Linked DNA regions of Homo sapiens: all the other regions are linked to region 3. Evidence: promoter capture Hi-C in 16 types of primary human blood cells and fetal thymus (Javierre and others, 2016). All regions are on one chromosome and are shown on one strand. Each heading gives the region's core, a stretch centred on a gene start or on the middle of the fragment in contact. The rest is flanking DNA. Distances are from core to core; before and after follow the strand shown. Region 1 overlaps KIF5A (kinesin family member 5A). Region 2 overlaps MBD6 (methyl-CpG binding domain protein 6). Region 3 holds the start of INHBE (inhibin subunit beta E).

The links. The method cuts DNA at HindIII sites, captures the fragments that hold promoters and counts their contacts. A CHiCAGO score of 5 or more calls a contact.
Region 1: a fragment that was not itself captured here is called in contact with the fragment with the promoter of INHBE in region 3 in 4 of 17 cell types (neutrophils, naive CD8 T cells, total CD8 T cells and 1 more); the score reaches 8.4 in neutrophils.
Region 2: a fragment that was not itself captured here is called in contact with the fragment with the promoter of INHBE in region 3 in 4 of 17 cell types (naive CD4 T cells, neutrophils, total CD8 T cells and 1 more); the score reaches 5.7 in naive CD4 T cells.

Annotation. Positions count from the first base shown.
Region 1 is chr12:57,563,521-57,566,328 of GRCh38, reverse strand. It overlaps KIF5A (kinesin family member 5A), which reads right to left. Exons shown (of 29, transcript NM_004984.4): 2 at 2,803-2,808; 3 at 2,636-2,709; 4 at 2,117-2,221; 5 at 1,821-1,869; 6 at 1,356-1,411. Among named protein-coding and RNA genes, the nearest start is that of KIF5A, 15 kb to the right of the region's middle. The HindIII fragment of the contact is 4,556 bases long and covers 1-2,808 here.
Region 2 is chr12:57,525,484-57,528,281 of GRCh38, reverse strand. It overlaps MBD6 (methyl-CpG binding domain protein 6), which reads right to left. Exons shown (of 13, transcript NM_052897.4): 6 at 1,894-2,798; 7 at 1,055-1,716; 8 at 622-775; 9 at 265-434; 10 at 1-135. Among named protein-coding and RNA genes, the nearest start is that of MBD6, 4.1 kb to the right of the region's middle. The HindIII fragment of the contact is 1,043 bases long and covers 987-2,029 here.
Region 3 is chr12:57,453,924-57,456,906 of GRCh38, reverse strand. INHBE (inhibin subunit beta E) reads right to left here and starts at 1,600. Exons shown (of 2, transcript NM_031479.5): 1 at 1,073-1,600; 2 at 1-813. The coding sequence starts at 1,370. The coding sequence ends at 59. RefSeq lists an enhancer at 1,627-1,921. The HindIII fragment of the contact is 16,061 bases long and covers 1-2,983 here.

The DNA.
Region 1 (2,808 bases), core at 266-2,765, 110 kb before region 3:
AGTTCGAGACTAGCCTGGCTAACATGGTGAAACCCCATCTCTACTAAAAATACAAAAATAAGTGGGCCTGGTGGCAGGCACCTATAATCCCATATGCTTGGGAGGCTGAGGCAGGAGAATCACTTGAACCCAGGAGGCAGAGGTTGCAGTGAGCCAAGATCATGCCATTGCACTACAGCCTGGGTGACAGAGTGAGAATCTGTCTCCAAAAACAAAAACAAACAAACAAAAAAAACCACTGTCTCTCTACTACACAGGCTGGAGTGCAGTGGCACTATCATGGCTCACTGCAACCTCAAACTCTTGAGCTCAAGCAATTCTCCCGCCTCAGCCTCCTGAGTAGCTGGGACTACAGGTGTGTGCCACCATGCCTGACAAAAATTTTTTTTTTTTTTTAAACAAGAGACTCAGCATAGTGGCTCATGCCTGTAATTCCAGCACTTTGGGAGGCTGAGGCAGGTGGATCACCTGAGGTCAGGAATTAGAGACCAGCCTGGCCAACATGGTGAAACCCCGTCTCTACTAAAAATACTAAAATCAGCCAGGCGTGGTGGCACATGCCTGTAGTCCCAGCTACTCGGGAGCCTGACGCAGGAGAATCGTTTGAACCCAGGACAGGGAGGTTGCAGTGACCCTAGGTCGAGCCACTGCACTCCAGCCTGGGCAACAGAGTGAGACTCTGTCTCCAAAAAAAAAAAAAAAAAAAATTAGATTAAATAAGAGAGACGGGTCTTGCTATGTTGGCCAGGCTGATCTTGAACTCCTCAAGTGATCCTCCCACCTCAGCCTTCTAAAGTGTTGGGATTACAGGCATTTCTTCCAGTAAACTTTGATTTGCAAATTAAATTGCATGCACACTGACCAATGACCTTTCAAGACAGTATCTTTTCTTTTCTTCTTTTTTTTTAAAGACAGGTTCTCACTCTGTCGCCCAGGCTGGAGTGCAGTGGCGCAATCTCGGCTCACCGCAACCTCTGCCTCCCAGGTTCAAGAGATTCTCCTGCTTCAGTGTCCCAAATAGCTGGGATTACAAGCATGTGCCACCACGCCCAGTTAATTTTTTGTATTTTTAGTAGAAACGGGGTTTCACTATATTGGCCAGGCTGGTCTTGAACTCCCGGCCTCAAGTGATCCACCCACCTCAGCCTCCCAAAGTGCTGGGATTACAGGTATGAGCCACCATGCCCAGCCAAGACAGTATCTTTTCTGATCCCCTAGACTCTCCCTGGCCCCTAGGCACATCTCATTCCTCCAGGATATCCACCCTCCAACTTCAGGGTCACTGACCTATGCTCCTCCCCCACCAACATTCTCAATACACTGGCCCCACATAGGTGCCCCACACCCACTCTCACCTTGACAAATGGCACCCGGTTCTTGTCCTCGTGCACGGACAGATTTGTCTTGGTCACTGAATCAAAAGAATGCAGGGTAAGCAAGACTAGTACTTCCACCGCCCCCATCTGCACCTTGCAGTCAGCTCAGATGGTGGTTTTCTTCTCTGTGCTAAAGGAAGACTCTCCCTGTGAAGCCTAAACTCCCTGCACGAGCTGAAGGCTCAGTTCCTCCTCCTTCTCCTCCTCAGGGCTCCTGCTCCTCGGCCCCAGATCCTCTCGAACTGTTTATATGTAGTCCTTGGCTGCTAAGCTCATCTCCTGACCTTCTCAGTTTTTGGAAATTCTGGTAAACGGGGCCAAAAGACTTGGGTGCTGTGTGCCCTCTGCATCTCTTGTCAATTGGTACCTAATTCCAAATGCAATGTGAGCTTTCTTTTCTCCACCCTCCTCACACACCCTCATCCACTGGGACAAAACACTCACCATCCAGAAGGTCACGAATTTTGTCCAGGTAAATTTCAAAGTAAGAAACCTGGTTAAGAAGAAAGAAGGAGTGTGAAGTAAAGAGGGCCTATCTTAAATCTAGTTCAGGAATCCCATACTAATGTGACCTGCTCAAACGGTGGTGGGAGGAAAAGAACAGAAGAGAACATCTTGACAAAGAACTCTGGTAACCGGAAAGGGAGTCAAGTTGGGGAGCCCAGGCTCTTCAGTGGGAAGATTTTAGATCTTCCCCTCCCAGTCCCCATCTGAATGCCCAGCTGTCGTGCCCTGGTCACCTTGATGTGGAACTCAAGGTTCTCATCCATGGAGTAGATGTGGTTGAAGATGTCTCGGGCAATTCGAGGAATGATTCCCATCAGCTGAGGGTCGTGCAGCTTTCCCTGGCGAGTGAAGGTATTTGAGAGTGAAGCTGGGGCTCAGGGAGAATGAGACAACTCAGATGTATGCAGGTGAACACCAAGGCAAGAGTCAATAAGAAGAACATCCTAAGTTAGGAGATGGTCACCACCATGTCTGCCTTTTAGAGGAGCAAGGAGATAATTGAGTAGCCCTTTGGACTTCCATTGCTTTTCCCGATCAAAAGAAGACTGGAGTAGTGGAAAGGATGATCCACTGCAGTGGGTTGGAGGGATTCCATTAAACTTCCCCTAATATTGCCCTTCAGTTCATCCTCTGTACTCATCTATCTGCCTCTGGACCAGGCAATCCTTGATTCCTAGACCTTCCCCCACTGAGATTCCCTGATCTTCCATTAACACTCCTAGCCCCTCAACCACCAAAGCCAGAACCCTCACCTCCATGGTATGTGTTTTCCCTGAGGATGTCTGTCCATAAGCAAAAATGGTGCCATTGTAGCCAGCAAGGACATCTGGAAGAGACAGTAGAGAAAGAGTACTGGTGGAGATAGGTCGGGTAGGAAATGGGGTGCTGAGAAGAGACATTCTAAAAAGAAATCTATTACCTTTGA
Region 2 (2,798 bases), core at 259-2,758, 71 kb before region 3:
CTCAGGGACTGGGGGGTCGGGAGAACCATGGGGTGGGGCTAAGGCACTGAGGGGAGGCCTGGCAGGCTCTGGTTCGAGGGCTGAGGCAGGGCTCTCGGGGGGTAGACAGGGGGCTTCTGGCTGCTCTGGAGGGATCTGCTGGCAAAAAAATAAGTTCTCAGTCAATCTCAAATACCGTCCCTCTTCTACTATAACTCAGAAAGCCCTAAATTTCCAGTTTGAGAAAAAATTATCTCCCTGACAAATATATGCCCACACCCTCACCTGGAGACTCTGTAGCAGGCAGGCTAGGGGACTAGAAGCCTCTGAGAGGGGTGGAGGAGCTCCCCCCCCAGGGAGGAGCTGCAGCCCCAACTGGCCAGAGAGAAGAGGGCCAGGAGGCTGCAACAGGCTGGGGAGGGCTCCAGGGCTGCTGGTCAGTGAAGACAGGTCACCTGTTGAGAAATTATAGTCAGGGGTCTCTCCCTAGGCAAACCAATTAGGCTGAGCAGACCTACTATTCTCTTTAGGCTTTATCCAGTGGCCAAAGACTTTCTTCCCCAATTTATTCAGCCACTACTCCCAAGTTTTACTCCTGCTTTTTCACACCAAGAGTGTGAATTCACACTCCCTCAGACTCACCCAGCAGGCTGGCACCCAGCAGAGGGCTAAGGAGTTGGGGGGGTCTCCCTGAGTTGGAGGGGGCCTTGCCCAGAGAGGAGGCCCCCGGGTCAGTAGTTGCCGTGGTGACACTGGAGGTAGGTGGTCCAGGTTGGGGGGCACTCAGGACACAGGGCTAAGAAAAAAGAATGATTCTAACACTTACGCGTGTAAAATACTCAACAGATTTATAGTGCTTTCACATCCACTATCTGACTGAAGCCTCAAGTGAGATAGGCCATGCTTATTAAATACAGACCCAATTCTTGCAGTCATCCTACCCCCAGCCAAGAACTAAGGCCTCCCCAAAGGCCCCAAGGAAGAGCTCAGGAATGAAACTGAAAGCTTTTGATTCCCAGCTCCCATCTCTTATTCTACATCTTGTTCTGTCCCACCTACTCACCCCCATCCTCACCTGGGGGGGTGTCCCCGAGGGGGGATCCAGGGTGGCAGCCAGCAGCGCAGAATTTAAAGCTATGAGGGTAGGGGGGGCTGAAAGTGGGGGGAAAAGTAGGGGGGACAGGTCTCCCAAGCCTGAAAATGGCTCCCCACTTGGACCCCCGGCTCCCTCTGCAGATCCCTCCCCATCCCCAGCTGTGGGGCCCAGAGCCAACAGGGGCAGGAAAGAGGCAAGGAGGTTGCTGGGAGGTGCTGAAGGAGGTGGAAGAAGGTCTGAGGGTGGTGGAGGAAGCAAGGAAGCCACCAAAAGCGAAGGCCCTTCAGGCTCTCCTGGGGCTAGGGGAGGACCAGGTCCTCCTGGTGGGGGTAGCAGGGGCTCAGGGGGAGGTTGTCCTCCTCCCCCAGTCAGCACACCAAATAAACTGTGGTTGAGCAATGGAGAAGGTGGAGGCTGCCCCAGACTCAGAGGGAGAGGCAAGGCCCCAAGCATCCCAGGGAAGCCAGCTCCACTCAGTGCCAGGCCCTGCTCAGGGCTGGGGAAAGGGAAAGCCTCTCCACCAGCCAGGGGAGGCAGAGGGCAGGCCGGGCCTGCCCCCATCCCCAGTCCTTCGGATGGGCTTTGAAGCACAGGGCTGGGGACTACTGGGGCTTTGGAGGCAGCTGGTGGGGCAGGGGCACCTGTAAAAGAGGAGAGAAATTCAGCTCAAGGGAGGCCCTTTCTCCCATCATCCAAAGAAGCCAACCTCCCTGCCCCCAACCCAGAAAACCCTCAAAGAGCTCTCTGAACATTCCCCTAAATGCCTTGGCTGCCTCTTTCCAGCCAGGATGAGGAAGGGCTCCACAATACTCACATACCTGGCACACTGCTGAGGCTGCCACTGGTGGTCCCAGGCAGGGAGGGCTGGATGGGGTGCCTGGGCTGGGGAGGGCTCCCTGAGGAGAGGGTTGGGGGAGGAGGAAGGTGTGCATCTGACCCCAAAAGGTTAAAGCTTCCATCAGAGTGGGAAGGGCCAGGGGTGGGGAGTCCCAGCAGGGACAGCACAGAAGGGAGAATTGGTTGGGATGGCTCCGGGAGAGAAAAGGGTTGGGGGACAGGAGCAGGGGCCCGAGGACGGCTCCGTCTAGGGGTTTGAGGGCCTCTCCCTTCTAGCAATCGAAATACAGTAGGGGGTCTGCGGGGACGACGCTGAGAGGGACGAAGTGATGAGGAGTGGGAAGCTGAGGGTGCCTGGGCACGGGGCCTTCGGCCCTGTAAAGTGCTGGGAGGGGGTAGTGGGGGATGCTGTGCCTTGGCCGCTGCAGAGAGTAGGCTGCTAGCAAGGAAGGGGGGTGCCCCAGGCCCCTCCACCGTGGGGGCCCCTCCCAGGGGCCCCAGGACCAGGGGCAGGTGCATAGTGGCTGAAGACACTGGTGGCTGAGAGGCAGGACCAGGGTGGGCGGGGAGATTATTGCTCGGGGGCAGGGGAGGGGGTGTTAAGGCATCACTACAGTGGAAGAGAGGAGGGTCTGAAGGTGGTGAGGAGGAGGCATGAGGGGCCGGAGGAGAGCCCAGGTCAGAGGGCACCAGGCTGGATCTGAGGGCAGCTCCCCAGTTGTATGAGGGAGCATTGAGGCTGATAGCAGGTGGAGGAGGTGGGGCTGGAGAGGGGGCATTGCCCCTTGGGAGGAAACGGGGGCTGCTACTGCCCCCAGAAGGGACTGGGTCAGCAAGCCTTGGGGGGAAAAGCCCCCCAGGGCCTGCTAGAGTGGGAAAGGCCTGG
Region 3 (2,983 bases), core at 351-2,850:
CCCTGTGCCTGGGAAACTTCATCTTGGTCTCTTCACTCCAAAGCCCCAGGTCCTCTTGCTAGCTGCAGCCACAGGCCTCCACCACCATATCTGGCACATCCGTCTTGACCACATTGCCATTATGATCCAGGTAGAGGAGAGAGAGGGGCCTTCGGGCAGTAGGGACACAACAGGAGGTACTGGCAGGCCAAGGATTGTTGGCTTTGAGGAGGCTGAAGACGGCAGAATGGAAAGAGGCAGCAATGCCTGGGCTGCCAGCCAGGTGGGGAGGGCACTGCCCACTGCAGTAATTCAGCTGGTACCCCTCGGGCTGCAGTATCCAGTCCCGCCATCCCAGTTCCTGGAAGTCTACGTAATGGTCTCGCCTGCAACATAAGGGGGTCGCAGGCTCACAGGTGGGGGTCCTCCTCCTGGCCCGGCCTGCTCCAGGCTCATTGGCTCGGATCTTAAGCTCTAGGAAGGGCTGCTGGTGTCCTGCTGTGTCCAAGAGCCGCCTCGGTTGTCCAGTAACTGTGCTGTTGCCTTCTAGGGGTCTGCAGTCTAGTTGCAGTTTCAGGACACCAGACTTCTCACCCCTCAAGCCACTAGAGGGCAGAGTTAAGGTATGCCAGCCCAGGTTGGTGATGTGGTGCTCAGCCAGGAGAGTGCGGGACCCTTGGCGCCTCCTCCTTGGTCCCCATCGGAAGATCCTCAAGCAAAGAGTGCCAGGAAGGGTGGGGAGCACGTGCAGCCACAGGCGGGCATGGTACAGGTGGTGGGACCGAGGAGTGGACAGGTGAAAAGTGAGCAGGGAGCTGTAGGCTGAAGTGGAGTCTGCCCGAAAGACAGAAAAGGGAAAGAAAATGTGAGTAGAGATGAAGCTCTCCTCTGAGACTCCCCAAGCCCTGCCCACTGCTCTCCCTCGAACCTACCTCTAGAAAAGTAGAGACTGCTTTGTGTCCTCTGCAACCAGTCCCTGCCCCAGCTCCTCCTTCTCCTGCCACACCCCACTCCCTCTGCTGCTCCTGCCAGGCTCCCCTTCTGCCTCCCTTTCCCTGTCTGCTCTTTGCCTGTTGCTCTCTCCCTCACCCACCTGTGACAGTAGCAAAGCTGATGACCTCCTCCCCATTCCCTGGAGCCACACTCCCTGGCTGTAGTCTCCGGAGGGCTCTGGTCAGCGCTGCCTGGGGTGGAGGATGAGTTATTCTGGGACGACTGGTCAGGTGCAACCCATCCAGGATTTGCTGCTTGGCTAGCTCCAGCACCAGAGCTCGTTCTGCTTGGGGTGCCAGTTTGGAGCCCCCACAGGAGGGACACACAGACCCTGTCCCCTGTGCTCGCACCAGTGCCCACAGCAGCACCAGCCAGAGCTGGACATCAGGGAGCCGCATGCTCCTGGTGAATGGCCCTGGTTCAGGAGCCTCGGATGGCAGTTGCTCCGTCTGTTGAGTCTGATTGCTGGGGGCCAATGAGGGCACAGTGACAGCAGACACCACTGCCACACCTACCCTTGGCCAAGGGTACAGCCACCTGTCTTCTATTGTCTGGGACTCAGGAAGGCTGAAAGTAGATCATCTGATGGATAGCTGTGCTTGACCCTCACAGCTCATGTCTGGCTACTGACCTGGGGCCTCTTTAGAGCCAGCTGCCTGGGTCTTCCAAACCTAGTGGTCAGCCAGCCGACCTACCCTCTGAGTCCCAGGATTGGCCAGCTGTGCTGCCCATCAGGCCCCTGCAGGGGGTGGAGGTCCTCCTCCCCATCAGCTCAGGTTTCACCATCTGGCCATGGTGACTGGGCCTGAAGTAGGGGTATGGGGGTGGGGGGGTGCAATGTGGACACGCATGATGCAAGAAAGAGGATGATTTCACATGCTCAGTCCCCAAGGTCTGGGACTTGGGGGAGGGAACGCCTTATGAGCCAGGTGGGGAAGGGCAATTTTCCCTCATACCTCTAGTCTTTCTAGCTTCACCACTGCTGCAGCAGTTTCCATGAGGCAGCTGTGAGTTCCAGTGGGTATTCCTCTGGGGCCCTTAGGCCAGAAGGAAAATTCTGGTCTCTTTATTTCTAGCACTGGGGCTAGGACAGGGATGAGGGTTTGGGCGGGTAGGAGAATGGAGCCCTCTTGCTCAGGCCCAGGTGGCAGTGCCACGAGGCACAGAAGTCACCCCCTGACCCTGCCTGTGCTGGCCGCCCAGAGTCCAGTTGGCCTGGAGCATGATGTGGAGCATGATGTGGAGGAGGGCCAGAGCCGGCGGGGGTTGGGGCGGGGAACGTGTTCCTGTGATGTCTGGGGAAGCCCAGAGAGGTGGTGGTGGTGGTGATGCAATCTTACACAGGGCAGAGTCCATCAGGACTGTCAGGGGGCATGACACTTGGGAGGGCCTATACCCAGCTGCCACTTCTCTTTCAAGGGACTGTGAGAGTTGCCTAAATTTGGGGCATCCTAGAAGTAGTGCCAGGCCTCCTTTTTTTCTTACATTTTTAAAATTTAAATTTTATTTTATTTTACTGAGGTAAGGTCTCAATCTGTTGTTCAGGCTGGAGTGTAGTGGCACAATCATAGCTCACTGCAGCCTTGAATTCCTGGGCTCAGACAATCCTTCTGCCTCAGCCTCCTTAGTAGTTGGGACTACAGGTGCGCACCACCACACCTGGCTAATTTTTAAATTTCCCACAGAGACAGGGTCTCGCTATGTTGCCCAGGCTGGTCTTGAACTCCTGGGCTCAAGCAATCCACTTGCCTCAGCCTCCTAAAGTGCTGAGGTTACAGGCGTGAGCCACCGCACCACCCTTCAGGCCTGTTAATGGGGGTAGAAAATGGGAGCTCTAAGAGCTTTTGACAACAAAGCAAGGCAAATACAGCAGTCTTGGTTCCCAGTCTCAGCCCTCCTGACCACATTTTCTCACTGTCTTTATTTTATTTTATTTTATTTTATTTTTTGAGGCTGAGTCTCGCTCTGTCGCCCAGGCTGGAGTGCAGTGGCACAATCTCGGCTCACTGCA